2 separate regions of the Homo sapiens genome follow, and region 1 is linked to region 2. Evidence: promoter capture Hi-C in human tissues and cell types (Jung and others, 2019). All regions are on one chromosome and are shown on one strand. The core of a region is centred on a gene start or on the middle of the fragment in contact, and the rest is flanking DNA. Distances in the headings are between cores, read along the strand shown.

What was found. Contacts are between HindIII fragments. The study calls those that stand out against the background at their distance.
Region 1: a fragment that was not itself captured here is called in contact with the fragment with the promoter of KLHL38 in region 2 in 1 of the 25 tissues and cell types used here (aorta).

Annotation. Positions count from the first base shown.
Region 1 is chr8:123,614,924-123,621,175 of GRCh38, forward strand. No RefSeq gene overlaps it. Among named protein-coding and RNA genes, the nearest start is that of KLHL38, 36 kb to the right of the region's middle. The HindIII fragment of the contact is 3,446 bases long and covers 2,390-5,835 here.
Region 2 is chr8:123,651,262-123,657,660 of GRCh38, forward strand. KLHL38 (kelch like family member 38) reads right to left here and starts at 2,540. Exons shown (of 4, transcript NM_001081675.3): 1 at 2,325-2,540; 2 at 316-1,666. The coding sequence starts at 1,665. The HindIII fragment of the contact is 9,515 bases long and covers 1-6,399 here.

The DNA.
Region 1 (6,252 bases), core at 2,863-5,362, 35 kb before region 2:
GTCAGGAGTTCGAGACCAGCCTGGCCAACATGGTGAAACTGTGTCTCTACTAAAAATACAAAAAATTAGCTGGGCATGATGGTACATGCCTGTAATCCCAGCTACTCAGGAGGTTGAGGCAGGAGAATTGCTTGAACCTGGGAGGCGGAGGTTGCAGTGAGCTGAGATTGCAGCACTGCATTCCAGCCTGGGCGACAGAGCAAGACTCAGTCTCAAAAAAAAAAAAGATCAGTGTTTATTTAGGAGTGGCACCACCACTGCCTGCCTCAGAATCACCTGGCCCATTTGTTAGGAAGAGTCAAGGATCTAGTCCAGATCCATGGAAACAGAGTATCTGGGAGTTGAACCCACAGCTTGCCTTTGTGGCAAGTCCTACAGGCGATTCATTCATGCATAAGACCTTCTGTGTGACCGATGGGCATCCCTAAGAATCTGGAGACTTGGCCTGATTTCTAGAATTGAACTCAATAGTCTTCCCACCTGCCCTGTATCTTGTTGTAAGGGAAGAATGAAACAGATGAGTCGTGTATTGACACTTCATGGGTGGCTTCTTGAAAGTGAGAATAGTCAAAATTGAGCTGCAGGGTCACCCAGACAGGACACTGGAATATTGGCAGCAAACCACAAAGCAGTGGGCCCTGTACCATCTGGAGACTGTTTTTGTGAACCATTGTCTACACATGATTGAGTTGGACTTTGGGGGTCATTTCTGTGGACTTCAGTCCACAGATGTGGCTATTGAAAATTGCTGCCATGTATTGAATGTTTATTATCTGTCAGACACTTTGAAGTTGCAAAGTGCTTTGCATGTATTAATATTATCTAACAGCCTTATAAGTTGGATACCAATATTATTCGCATTTGGTTGGTATAGAAACTGAGGCTTAGAGAAAACGCCTTGAGTCATTTACTTAAACTCTCATAACTCACGAGTGTTGGAGCCAGAATTCAAATCCAGTCCATGGTACTTAATAATCAGTGGCTGTCTGACTCTACCCTAGGATACCAAGTTTTGGGCTCAGTGAGTCTGTTTTTGGATAGTTTTGGCGGAAAAGATCAACCAACCCTTTAGCCAATTGGTGCTTTGCTTTTTTTTTTTTTTTTTTTTTGAGACAGGATCTCTCTCTGTCATTCATTCAGGCTGGAGTGCAGTAGTGTGATCATGGCTCATTGCAGCCTCGGCTTCTCGGGCTCAAGCCATCTTCCTACCTGAGCTACAGACTTTGCTAGATGCTGCCAGGGGCCCCACAGGATAAGGGGAGATACCTGTTCCCCGAAACTCATAGTGTAATTGAGAAAATGGCTCGTATGCATGAAGCTGTAATGACTCAAATGGGCTTGCTGGGATTTTTGCTCTGTTGGCCTGTGTATGTGGTTGTGTGAGTGTGTGTATATGAGTGTGTGTGTACGTGTGTGTAACAGGGAAAGGGTGAGACAAGAAGAAGGCAGAGTGAAGGGGATGGGGGTAGGGGAAGAAAAGTGATGTGTCTACAGAACTTGGATCAGAAGGCATGAGGAACTCAAGAGTCCTGCCTGCCTGACTGGCGAGATAAGAGAATTCCATGTGAAGGTGATATTCAAAGTCAAGCGGGAAGCACATTCAGACCATCTGGGGACCTTTAAAACATACCAGTGCCTGGGCCCTACCTAAAGATACTAGTTTAATTGAATGAGGCTGAGGATTGGAGATAGACATTTTCAGAAGCCCCCGTGTGATTCTAATGAATACTTGGACTGAGAACTGGGCAAATGCATGCTTTTCCAGTGTCTCATGCCCCCCCTGTTTTCAATCCTGGCCACAGATCTTTCAACAGACTTCCTGGTGCTGGGTCTCCTTGTTCTCTCTTTAGTGTGACCGAGAGGCCAGATGACCACGTATATGCCTAAGAGGAGAAGCTGCCACCTGTTGCTGTAAATCTGGTACAATTTCATCATCTCTTTGCCCCATGTATTTTCAGTATCTTATAACTGCATCTGAATGATGTGTTGTTTTTTGCTTTGTAACAACTTGTAGGGTCACAAGGGGACGTGTGCTGTAGTGCTTCTGGGGTTTTTACCTTGTAAATATAGACAGGGTAAGTTTGCTTGTTGCGATGATTACCTTTGATTGTGATAGACCAGAGCAAGCTTTCACTTGGCTCATCTTTCCTTAATTTGTTGTTGAGAAAGACTTCCAAATAAATCCCTTTTGCAAAGACTGAGTGAATCCCAACCACTTCAGGGAAATTGCCCCTAAGTGGGGGCTTCAGGGAGGTCAAACCTGGAGGAAATGATCAGGAATCTCTCTAAAGTTATCAGAAAGATGGAAAATCTGGAAGGGAAGAGCTTCATAGATATACGCTTTATCACTTCCTCCCTCCCTGTCTCCAAATATGTATATATTTTTTCTGAACCATTTGAGGGTTACATGCAGACATCCTGGCCTTCTATCTCTAAACATTGTAGAGTGCATTTCCTGCAAACAATATGTTAGGGCAGTAGTTCTCAATCTTGGCTGCACACATTAGAATCTAATTCCACATAAGAATTTTCTGAGGAGCTTCAAACCAAAACCAAAACCAAAAAAAAAAAAAAAAAATTCCGGTCCCAGTCTGTACCTTGGAATGGTTGAATAAGAGTGGCTGGGGCAAGGCACACAGTATTGTTTTAAAGCTTCTAGATGATTCCAATGTGCAGCCACAGTTAAGAAACTCTATGTTAAGGGATAAGAGAGGCTTAAAAATTAAGAGGGCACCTCAATATGTTGCAAGGAAGAAAGACGAATCAGAAGCCCAGGTTGGGGAATCGTCATATACAACAGCTTTGGAATGTAATGGTTAAGTCCAGCCAGTTCCAAGAACTCAGCTTAGCCTTAAGAAGATGGCCAATCTCCAAACATCCTTGCAATCCCAGTTCGTGAGCCATTGGCATCACACGGCGCAGGGTACACGTGAGAGCTGATAATGAGAGCAGCCCCCCGACTCTTTGTTCTTCTTGGCCCAGAAAGAAAGGAGAAGGGACTTCAAGATCACCCTGATTCTCTATGCTGTCTCTATGCTTGTCAGTGATCCAAACAAGAGAACTGCCAACAAGGGTTAGGAGAGTGCTGGGGGTGGGGAGGACATGATCATTTTTCAGGGGATAAGCTGAGAGATTCTGGGCTTCTGCATTCACGGTTCTGCAAAAGGAAACACATAAAGCAGCATGGATAAGACTCAAATCCATTGTCCAGTGTCTTAGGTGAGCAGGTGTGAAATGTTTGGTTAGGACGTGAGCCATCAGCTGGGGCCACTTAAAAAAAACTTTTTATATTAAAATAATTTCAAACTTAACAAAAGAATTGCAAGAATAGTATAAAGCAGCAGTCCCCAACCGTAGGGCCACGGACTGCTACCAGTTTGTGACCTGTTGGGAAATGGGCGGCACAGCAGGAGGTGGGGGGCAGGTGAGTGAGTGAAGCTGCTTCCGTACAGCCGCTCCCTGTGGCTCGCATTACCTCCTGAGTTCTGCCTCCTGTCAGATCAGTGGTGGCATTAGATTCTCATAGGAGCTCACACCCTATTGTGAACTTAGGGATCTAGGTTGCATGCTTCTTATGAGAACCTAATGCCTGATGATCCGTCACTGTCTCCCATCACCCCTAGATAGGACCATCTAATTGCAGGAAAACAAGCGCAGGGCTCCCACTGATTCTACATTATGGTGAATTGTATAATTACTTCATTCTTTATTACAATGTAATAATAATAGAAATAAAGTTCACAATAAATGTAATGGGCTTGAATCATCCTGAAACCATCCCCTGCCCCTGGTCCTTGGAAAAATTTTCTTCCACGAAACCGGTCCCTGGGCACTGCTGATATAAAGAACTCCCATACCATTCACCCAGGTTCACTAATTGTTAGCTGGTTACCACTTTTGCTTCCTTGCTCCCTCCCTCTCTGGATGTGTGTGTGTATATATATTTCTGAACCATCTGAGGATTAAGGGTGCACTCTTTACCCCTAAACACTTCAGTGTGTGTTTCCTATGAACAAGTGCTTTGTCTCATATAACCACGGTGCTGTGGAAATAAATGAAGACCAATCAAATGAGAAAAGCAAAGGCTGTTTATTCAGAGCTTGCTACAGCCTGGGAGTCAGCACCATCATGTGTCTTTTGGCAGAGACTCAAAAGCAGGCAGAAGAGTGGGAATGCTCATAAAGAGGAAAACAGGAAGATTTCAGGTGGAAAAAAGGGTTGGCCTGGGGAAGCTGAAGGCAGCGAACTAGAAGCCAGGTGTCCTCTATGATTGGTTAGGGGTGCCTTTCTGGCTTTCTCTGGTTGGTCCTAAATTGGCAGTCGGAGCAAAAATCAGGGAAGTTGTCCATTCCTAACCGAGTCCTGGCCATTTTGAGTAGATTGTTACAGAAGTTATTGTTTAGCTTCCTGGATTGTCACTAGAGATAGAAACCTGGCTTCCTGCAAGTCTGAATTACAGCAGGCTGGTTTTCTGGGCTGGTTATTGTAGATAAGGGGTTGGTTTCCTGGACAGGCTGCTGCAGGTTTTGGGTCAAAGTTCTATTTTTACATATGGTCTGGCCATTGTCCATTTGTATACTGAATCAGTACGAGGATCATGTTCAGATTTAACTTTGGCATAACACTGTGATCTAACAGACACTCCATGTTTGAATTTTGCCAGTTGCCCCAATCATATCCTTTACAGAAACTTCCACTCCTCTCCTCCAAATGCAATCAAGGATCATGCGCTGTATTTGTTCCTCATGTCCCTTTAATCTCCTTTAATCTGGAACAGCTCCTCAGCCTTTGTTTGTCTTTCACGACACTGGCATTTTTGAGGTGTTCAGGCCTGTTGTTTGTGGTGGTGACACCCTTGAGGACACACATTTGTGAGCTGATGGTGAAAATATGTCCACAGCCAGTGCCCCTCTGGACTTTGCTCCTCGAGTCTTATCCAAGAGACTCTGGGAATTGTTTGGGTTTACGCAGCCCAGGTAACTGGATAATCAGCCTTCATGGAGGACACAGAAAGTCACGTCTACATGCAGGGCAGACAGGAAGCTTGTAAACAGAGAGTGGTACCCACGGTCATGTCCATTAGCAGCTAATCCTCTGCAAGGCCAAGAGAGTTTGTGAAATATGTTTTGGTTCCAATTTTGGAAATACGTTCTTTCATTAGCTCAGCCCTCTGCTGCGTTTCACATACATAGACACTGGGTTTTTCCCCTTCTTTTCTTTCTTTCTTACCTCCTTCCTGCTCCAGTTTCCCATTTCTGCAAAGACGCCAGAAACATTTTCCAGGCCCTGAGGGGAGAGGGCCAGGGTGTTGTTTTTGCAGGATGGGGTATGGTGTCCCTGTACGACTGGAATGGACCTGTGTTTTTTAAAAACATCAGGACTCAGAGAAGGTTTTGTTTTGAGCCTGAATGGCTTTGAGGGCAGGCCTAACACTCTGAAAACATCCACCTCTTAGTCACTCCAAGCTGCTGTCATAGAGCGATTTCTGGGTCTGTCAGCAGCCTGTATCATAGTTAAAATCTCCTTTATCCTCATCCCTCTTAATACTCTGAGCAATAACAAGTTTTTATTTATGGGGGATTGAACTAAAATAAGTTTGCTGTGTGCAGCAGTTACGATTATGGTGTTTGGTGTCAGATTGTCTGGCTGAGTCTTTGCTATCAAACCATGTGTCCCTGGGTAAATTGCTTAATCTCAGGTTCCTCAGCAGTGAAAAGAGGACAGTATTAGCTGTTTTGTAGGGTTAGAGTGAGGATTAAATGTCGGGATAAATGATGACATTTAGCAGAATGATTGGCAAATAATAAGCACTCATCAAATGCTCATCATCGCTATTACTTTGCTTATCACTGAAGTGGAAAGCTAAAACTTGTTGGCTAAAACTCACTTTTGGTGATCATTGTGGAAGGAGTATGGGTTTTGTGTTACCCTGATGTGGATTTAAATCCTGGCGGTGCCCATCACTGGCTGGGTGATGTGGGGCAAGAGAACCTTTTCTGAGCCTCAGTGTTTCCCATCTGTAGAATGGGAATGGTACTACTACCTTTGCAAATGTGTCACGAGACCACAACAAGAGAACCCATGTCCTGCATCAGCACAGTGCTGAGTGCTGAGTGCAGAGTGCACGCTGAATAAAGGCACTGGTTAGTTATTTTCTTCATTTCTCTCCCCCTTGATCCCTTTTCGCCTCACAAAGTGAGTCTCATTTCTGGAACAGTAAAGGGAATGGCTATTTTGACACGTGTCAGGGCA
Region 2 (6,399 bases), core at 1,290-3,789:
TGTAGATATATGTAAATGTGTGTATGCATGCATGAATTGTATATGTGTATGCATGTGCACACGTATGCATGTTGGCATCTGCATATATGTGTGCATATGTGTATGCATGTATGCATGAATATACATTTCTGCATATATGTGTGCACGCATGTATGCATATGTGTGTTTGTGTATATGTGTGCATATATATATTTATGTGCATATATGTGTTTTTTGGTGTGTATGTATACATGTGCATGTGTGTGCAAGCAGGTGTGGGTGTGTCCAAGCACACATACTCATGCAGTTACGTGATGGGAAGAACCGGCCATTTACCTGGATAAGGCGCACAGGGTTCTGCATGATGTCCTCTCCTCCAAAGAGATAGAGTCTTTGGTCTTTCACAGCGACTGCGGGGTGGAGCACCCCCACGGGCATGCTGGCCATACTCTCCCAGACATTGCAGATGCTGTCATACCTTTCCATGGAGCCCATGAGCTCCTGCCCTTCTCCAATCCCCCCGATGGAGAAGATGAAGTTCTTATGGGCAGTGCTTCTGTGGGAGTAGCGGGCCACCAGCATGGGCTCCCCCAGCCTCCACTGATTGAGTTTCAGGGAGAAGATGTAGACATTGTGACTGACCAGACTCCTCCCTGAGCTGACAGCCATGCCCCCCAGCACATAGATGCTGCGGTGCAAGGTGATGGCAGAGGCCTTGTACAGCCGTGTCGGGAGTTTGGCAAGGCTCTGCCATTGGCCGGTCTGTTTGCTGTACAGTAGGACGTCCCTGGTGGTCTGCTGGCTGTCCTTCCTTCCGCCCAAGAGGATGAGGAAATCTTGGTAAGAGTTTCTTGGAGGGACATGCAACAGGAGTTTGCAGTCTGGGACGGTGGTGCCACACAAAGAGAACATCTGTCTCTTGGCGGTCTCCAAGATGATCTGGCATGCAGGCGAGGACTGCAGGAGGGCATCGTTGGCGATGAAGTGGTGAAAGAAGGCTGGGTGGATGTACTGCAGCCTGACCTGCTTGAACAGTTCCTGCATGTATCGCTTCCGGGCCTGGAGGTCATGCTTGATCCAAACCATGAGGGCCTCAAACACCTTTTCCTCCTCCCCACAGAGCCCATCATCTCCGAGATAGTCCCTCAACTCCAAGGCACAGAGCTCCTTCAGGTCGGCCGATGCGGCCACCTCTGGGAAGGACGTCAGTGCCACCTCCCTGGCTTTCTTCTTGAGGGTCTCGCAGCTTAAGATTTCTGAGAGTCTGATCATACCCAGGCAGTTGCTGGGGGCCAACTGGCTCTGCAAGTACGAGGAGCAGGCCTCAAACAGCTTGGGGAACTGTAGCATGGAGGCGGCCTCCATCACGGGGAGGACATTGTCAGTGGCAATATGTGCCTCCCCCGTATACACGTAGGAGACGATCTGGTCCAGGGTTGGGGGGTCAATGCCTTTCAGCTGCACTTTGGCTTCACTCTTCTCCCGGAAGCTGCTGCAGAACATAGCCCTGAAGTAGGGGCTGCTGGAGGCCAGCACGTTGCGGTGGCAGGGGATCTCCCGGGCACCGGCACAGATGCTCACATCAGTCAGGATCCTGCTTTGCCTTAAGCTGTTGAGCTGCCTCAACAAGTCAGAAGAGAAGTCGTGGTCTTTGAAGAGCAGCCCATCTAGTGACTCCTCGTCCATCCTACAAAGAGGGAAGGAAGCCCCCAGAGTCAGCAAGAGTCAAACCTTTCTCAGCTGCATGTGCTGGAGGGTTCAGCTGTGGGGACTCCAAGACCAGTGCTCCTATTCCATTCCCCATGATGTTTGCGGATGTCACCATGGATATTGTGTAGGGAAGATTGGAAAGGAAGGCCACATACATCTCAGACCTGAGCCCTTTTGGGTTATGGTTATTTTCAAAAGTAATAGGCAAATAGTATCTTCAGCTAATCTGAGAGAAACAACCAAACAAACAAACTAAAGTTGTTGGAAGTTACTCTGTTATCAGAAGCTGAAATGTTAGTCTGAAGCAAGATAACAGTCCATGGATTTGACCAGCAGAAGTTCATGAGCCTTTTTCCAGATCGATGGCATATCTGTTATTGAGTAACAGATGTCTAAACCTCTCTTTCTGGGTGTCAATCATTCCCCAAGGATGATATTCTGGAGGTGTGGCCCTCTGGTCACTGGACAGAAATGAGGGAAGAAAATGGACCTTTGATGCATATATTTAAATATGACTTCATTGAGTCTTGTTTTAAAGATAGAATAAATAAAAGGAAAGACCAAACAATCCCCTGGTTTATTGGATGACACCTGGTTTTCTACTTGCAGAAGAAATAAGTATGAGGGACACTTACCTTGTTTTGCTGCGGTGACATCCACTGGTGCCTGGTCTGACTTATCCCCCCGGAGAGTTTCTACCTCTAGCTCCAAGGGAAACCATAAACCCCAGGCCTTTCTTTCAGTTGGCAAATGATTTGTCCTGGGAGATTTCTGGATTTGTTTATGCTGAAGGCACTTTCATAGTTTTCTAGAGCTTTGTGCAAGGACTGCTGGGCAGGGAGACAGTGTATACATTCCAGGGCTAAGAATAGTTGCATATGTACTTTCCACTGTTATGACATGTGACTTTCCAGTTGCCTTTTGCAGCAACCCGAGGGCCTGCAGGGCCGGCGCATGCCCACATGCCTCGTTTCCTTGGCAAGTGTTTACATCGGCAAAAATAGATCGGGAGGAGCGGCTTCTCTTAGAGAAGACTTTGCTGTCTGCTTGGAACCATCCCGAGTCCCCTGTCCTAAAAGTGCTTGGGAATTCTAGCCGTCTGTAAACAGGTTGCTGTGACCTGTGGAGAGTCACTGAAGATGGTTCTGGGCCACAGTGGAGGTGGCAGGTGGTCACAAGGGAAGCCGGAACATGAGCCTGTGGGTGCTATTCAATGGATCTCTATTTCCCACCATCTGCCTGGCGGGATCGCTGGGGAGAGCTGTGATTTCCTCCTCCAGGATCCTAGGTGATGAAATCCATGACAAAAGTTGTTGTTTTTTGTTGTTGTTGTTGTTGAGCATCCCAGGGTTTCCAGACTCCTGAAGGCCCAAACCTTTGTCAGGTCTCCTTACTCAGGAACCTCTGATTGACAGTGGTAAGGCCGAGCTCCTCCTGTCGCGTCTGCCTCTCCCAGACACGTGCTGATTGCTCTTCAGCTGGCTTTTTATAGTTCAGACTTCCTTTTCTGTCTTACTTTTCCATTTTGTCTTGTCTGGCAGCTTGAGCTAGAGGCAGGAGGCAAGGCATATTGCTTTAGGGAGAGAGAGAAAGAAGATGAAGGAGGATGAGGAGGAAGAAGAAGCAGGGACAGAGGGAGGGAGAGAGACGAGAGGAGGAAGAAGAGGAGGAGGAATAGGAGGAGGAGGAAAAGAAGCAGGAGGTAGAGAATCGGGGGAGGAATGATGATAGTGATGTGGTAGGAGGCAGCTTTCAATAACAATCAGAATCACGAGAGAGAGTGAGGGGGACCTCAGGTCTGTTCTGCCCCTGCCTTCAGGGAGGTCCATGATTGTCTTAGCCACAAAAGGCAGGGAAGCCTGACTTTGTCTCCTACTCAACGTCTTGCTCAACTAGTGCAATGGTCTTCCATGCATTTTTTTTTCTTTGCTCCTAGTACTTCTCTCTCCAATACATCCACCCTGTCTTCTCTGGAGCAGCCCCTGGGAAGGCAACTCAGAATTTGCCAGTCCCCAGCATCAGGCCCTTCAGTGGCTCCCCATGTCTGCAGGACTCCTTAGCCAGAATCGGACTGGTGTCCTGTCTGCTTCTGGAACCATGTCTACTGCCACTCATGTGTGGTAATCTAGCTCCATGAGACACTTACAGATCCTTGTATGCATCTGGTCACTGTTGGGGAAGCTGGGCTGGCCTGGCCTTTGGGACACCACAGGGCAGGGTGGAAGGAAGAGGGTTTCTCATTCACAGTTGCCGATCGTAGAGTGGATTATGCCCAAAAGAGTCCAGAAGGTCAAGGCCAGGGAAATGGATCCAAAACATGTTACTGGGGCCATGGGCCTGGAGGCCAGAATTAGGAGCAGGAGGCCTAAGCTAAGGGGGTCAGAGACCCATGGAGGCACAAGCAGGGAGCAGGTGAGAGGAGCTGTTCCTCCATATGTCCGAGTTGGTGAGCTGTGCTGGTGACATAATAAGTGAGTAGCCACATTCCTGAAAGAGCCCAGGGATCCTCTGATTCGTACTCTATCCCTTTCTATGAGCTCTTCCCCTCTGCTCACTCTATCATTTTCACTGTTTCTGTTCGTCTTCCAAAACTTGGTTTATGTATCACTTCTCTGCAAGTCTTTTTACCCCTCTCTAAGACACTTAACTTCACACTCCTCTGTGCAGTTTCCATTCTTCTACATGCCTCTAATGGCATGCCTCATACCTCACTGAGATTATGTTTACTTCCCTGTGTCTCTCTTATTAGAGTGGAAGTCTCTGGGCAGCAGGAATCTTGACTTCATTGTAGCTCTACTCCTAGCACCCAGCACAGGGCCTGGCTTATAGGGGGTGAATTTCATACACTTCCTGCATTGAGCTGGAACAGAATGGGGAATGGGGAAAGAGAGGGAGCTTTGCTGGGTGGACTTCACACCACTGTCTGCTGTGCCGGTTTTGCAGAGCTGCCATGTATGGCTTACTGCGTAGACTGCCCTGCAAATATGCTCTGGAGCAGCCCTGATTATCCACATAATCAAATCCAATAATGTGATGAAGTGAAAAGTAAAACACTTGTTTTATACTGCAGTGCAAGACTTAAGTTCAGGCTGGGAACTGAACTGAGGTCCTCCCAACGCCAAAGCTAGCATTCTTGTCCTTGACCTCGGAGTGAACATGAGGAAGAAATAACTTCCTTAATGCTCTGAAACACCTGCATGATTTCTCTTCCAGGCAGCAAGCAAGCCAAGGATTTATTCTGAGGGTAATAGGTAGGGGATCCTAGGAGTGAATTAACACAGCACCGTTCCCTGGGAAGGATGTTGGATTTTCCCCTACATCCCCTTACTAATTAAACTTTCTGGAATCCAGCTCTGTCAATTGTTCAGATAGACCTTGGTGTGCAGCATCAATGTCTGACCAACTTTACTAAATCTTTTGGTTTCTAATGTTTAGAAAAAATAGGCCCTGTTTTGTTGGCCTGGCCTACCAGGAGGATCCTGGTTCTAGGTCAGATGTCAAATGTCAAGACACAGAGTCTTAGTGTTCAACATGGCAAACACACACATATAAGCCCAAGCTTGACCCCAAAAAGCATCTCTACCACCCACATGTAGCCCAACCAGCCCATTCATGAGTTGACTTCTCTCAGGGAGGTTTATACTTTTTGTCTTAACTTTCATCTAGAAGATGTCTTAGTCTAGGGCCTGAACATATGGCAACCTAAAAGAAATGACATCAATGAGGACATTCAGCTCATTGTTTCTCCTTTTTTTGTTTCTTCTGAGACAGGGTCTCACTCTGTGGCCCAGGCTGGAGTGCAGTGGCATGATTATGGCTCACTGTAGCCTCCAACTCCGAGGCTCGAGTGATCCTCCCACCTCAGCCTCCTGAGAAGCTGAGACTAAAGGCATGAGCCACCACATCCATCTATTTTTTGTGTTTTTTGTAGAGACAGGGTTTTGCTATGTTGCCCAGGCTGGTCTTGAACTGCTGGGCCCAAGAGATTCACCCACCTTGGCCTCCCAAAGTGCTGGGATTACAGGCATGAATCACGGCCCTCCTTTTGATGAAAGTCAGTATCATAACAAGTCAAGGCCTGAACTTTGGGGGCAGAAGGGCTGGGGATAATCTTGGCATTTCCCCTCAGTATTCATGTGGTCTTGGGTAAGTTATTTATACTCCTCCAGCCTCAGTTTCTCCATCTGTTAAGTGGGGATAACCATCCTTGTCACAGTGAAATAATGTATGTGCAGTATGCAGTAAAGTGCCTGGCACAGTGTATATTCATAGTAAAGTATGGTCAGTATGATATTATTACTCTAAAATTAATCTCATTAGATTCCAATGGGTCTTGGTGCCTGGTTTTCAGTGTCTCAATTGGTCCCCTGTGCATTCTAGCATTTTCCTTTTCCTTGAGCAATTGCTGTGTTCCTCATGATCTACTTAGCCTCCAGGAGTCCTGGCATTCAGTCTGGGCTCTGCTATCGACTAGCTGTGCATCTTTGGATGAGTCAATTAACCTCTCTGCACTTATTTCCTCACCTGGCCCTTCTAGATCACCTTCCTGTGGTTTGTACCCTGAGGTGTTCTCTGCAATCTGTGGCCTAGAACAGGGACTGGGAGAAACTGAGACTGAGGGATGAGGGCTCTTCAGAGCTTCCTCACGGCTCTCGCCTGAAGCCAAGTGCAGAGAAGAAACCTAAGTCGAGCTCCCAGCAGGTGCCCTTG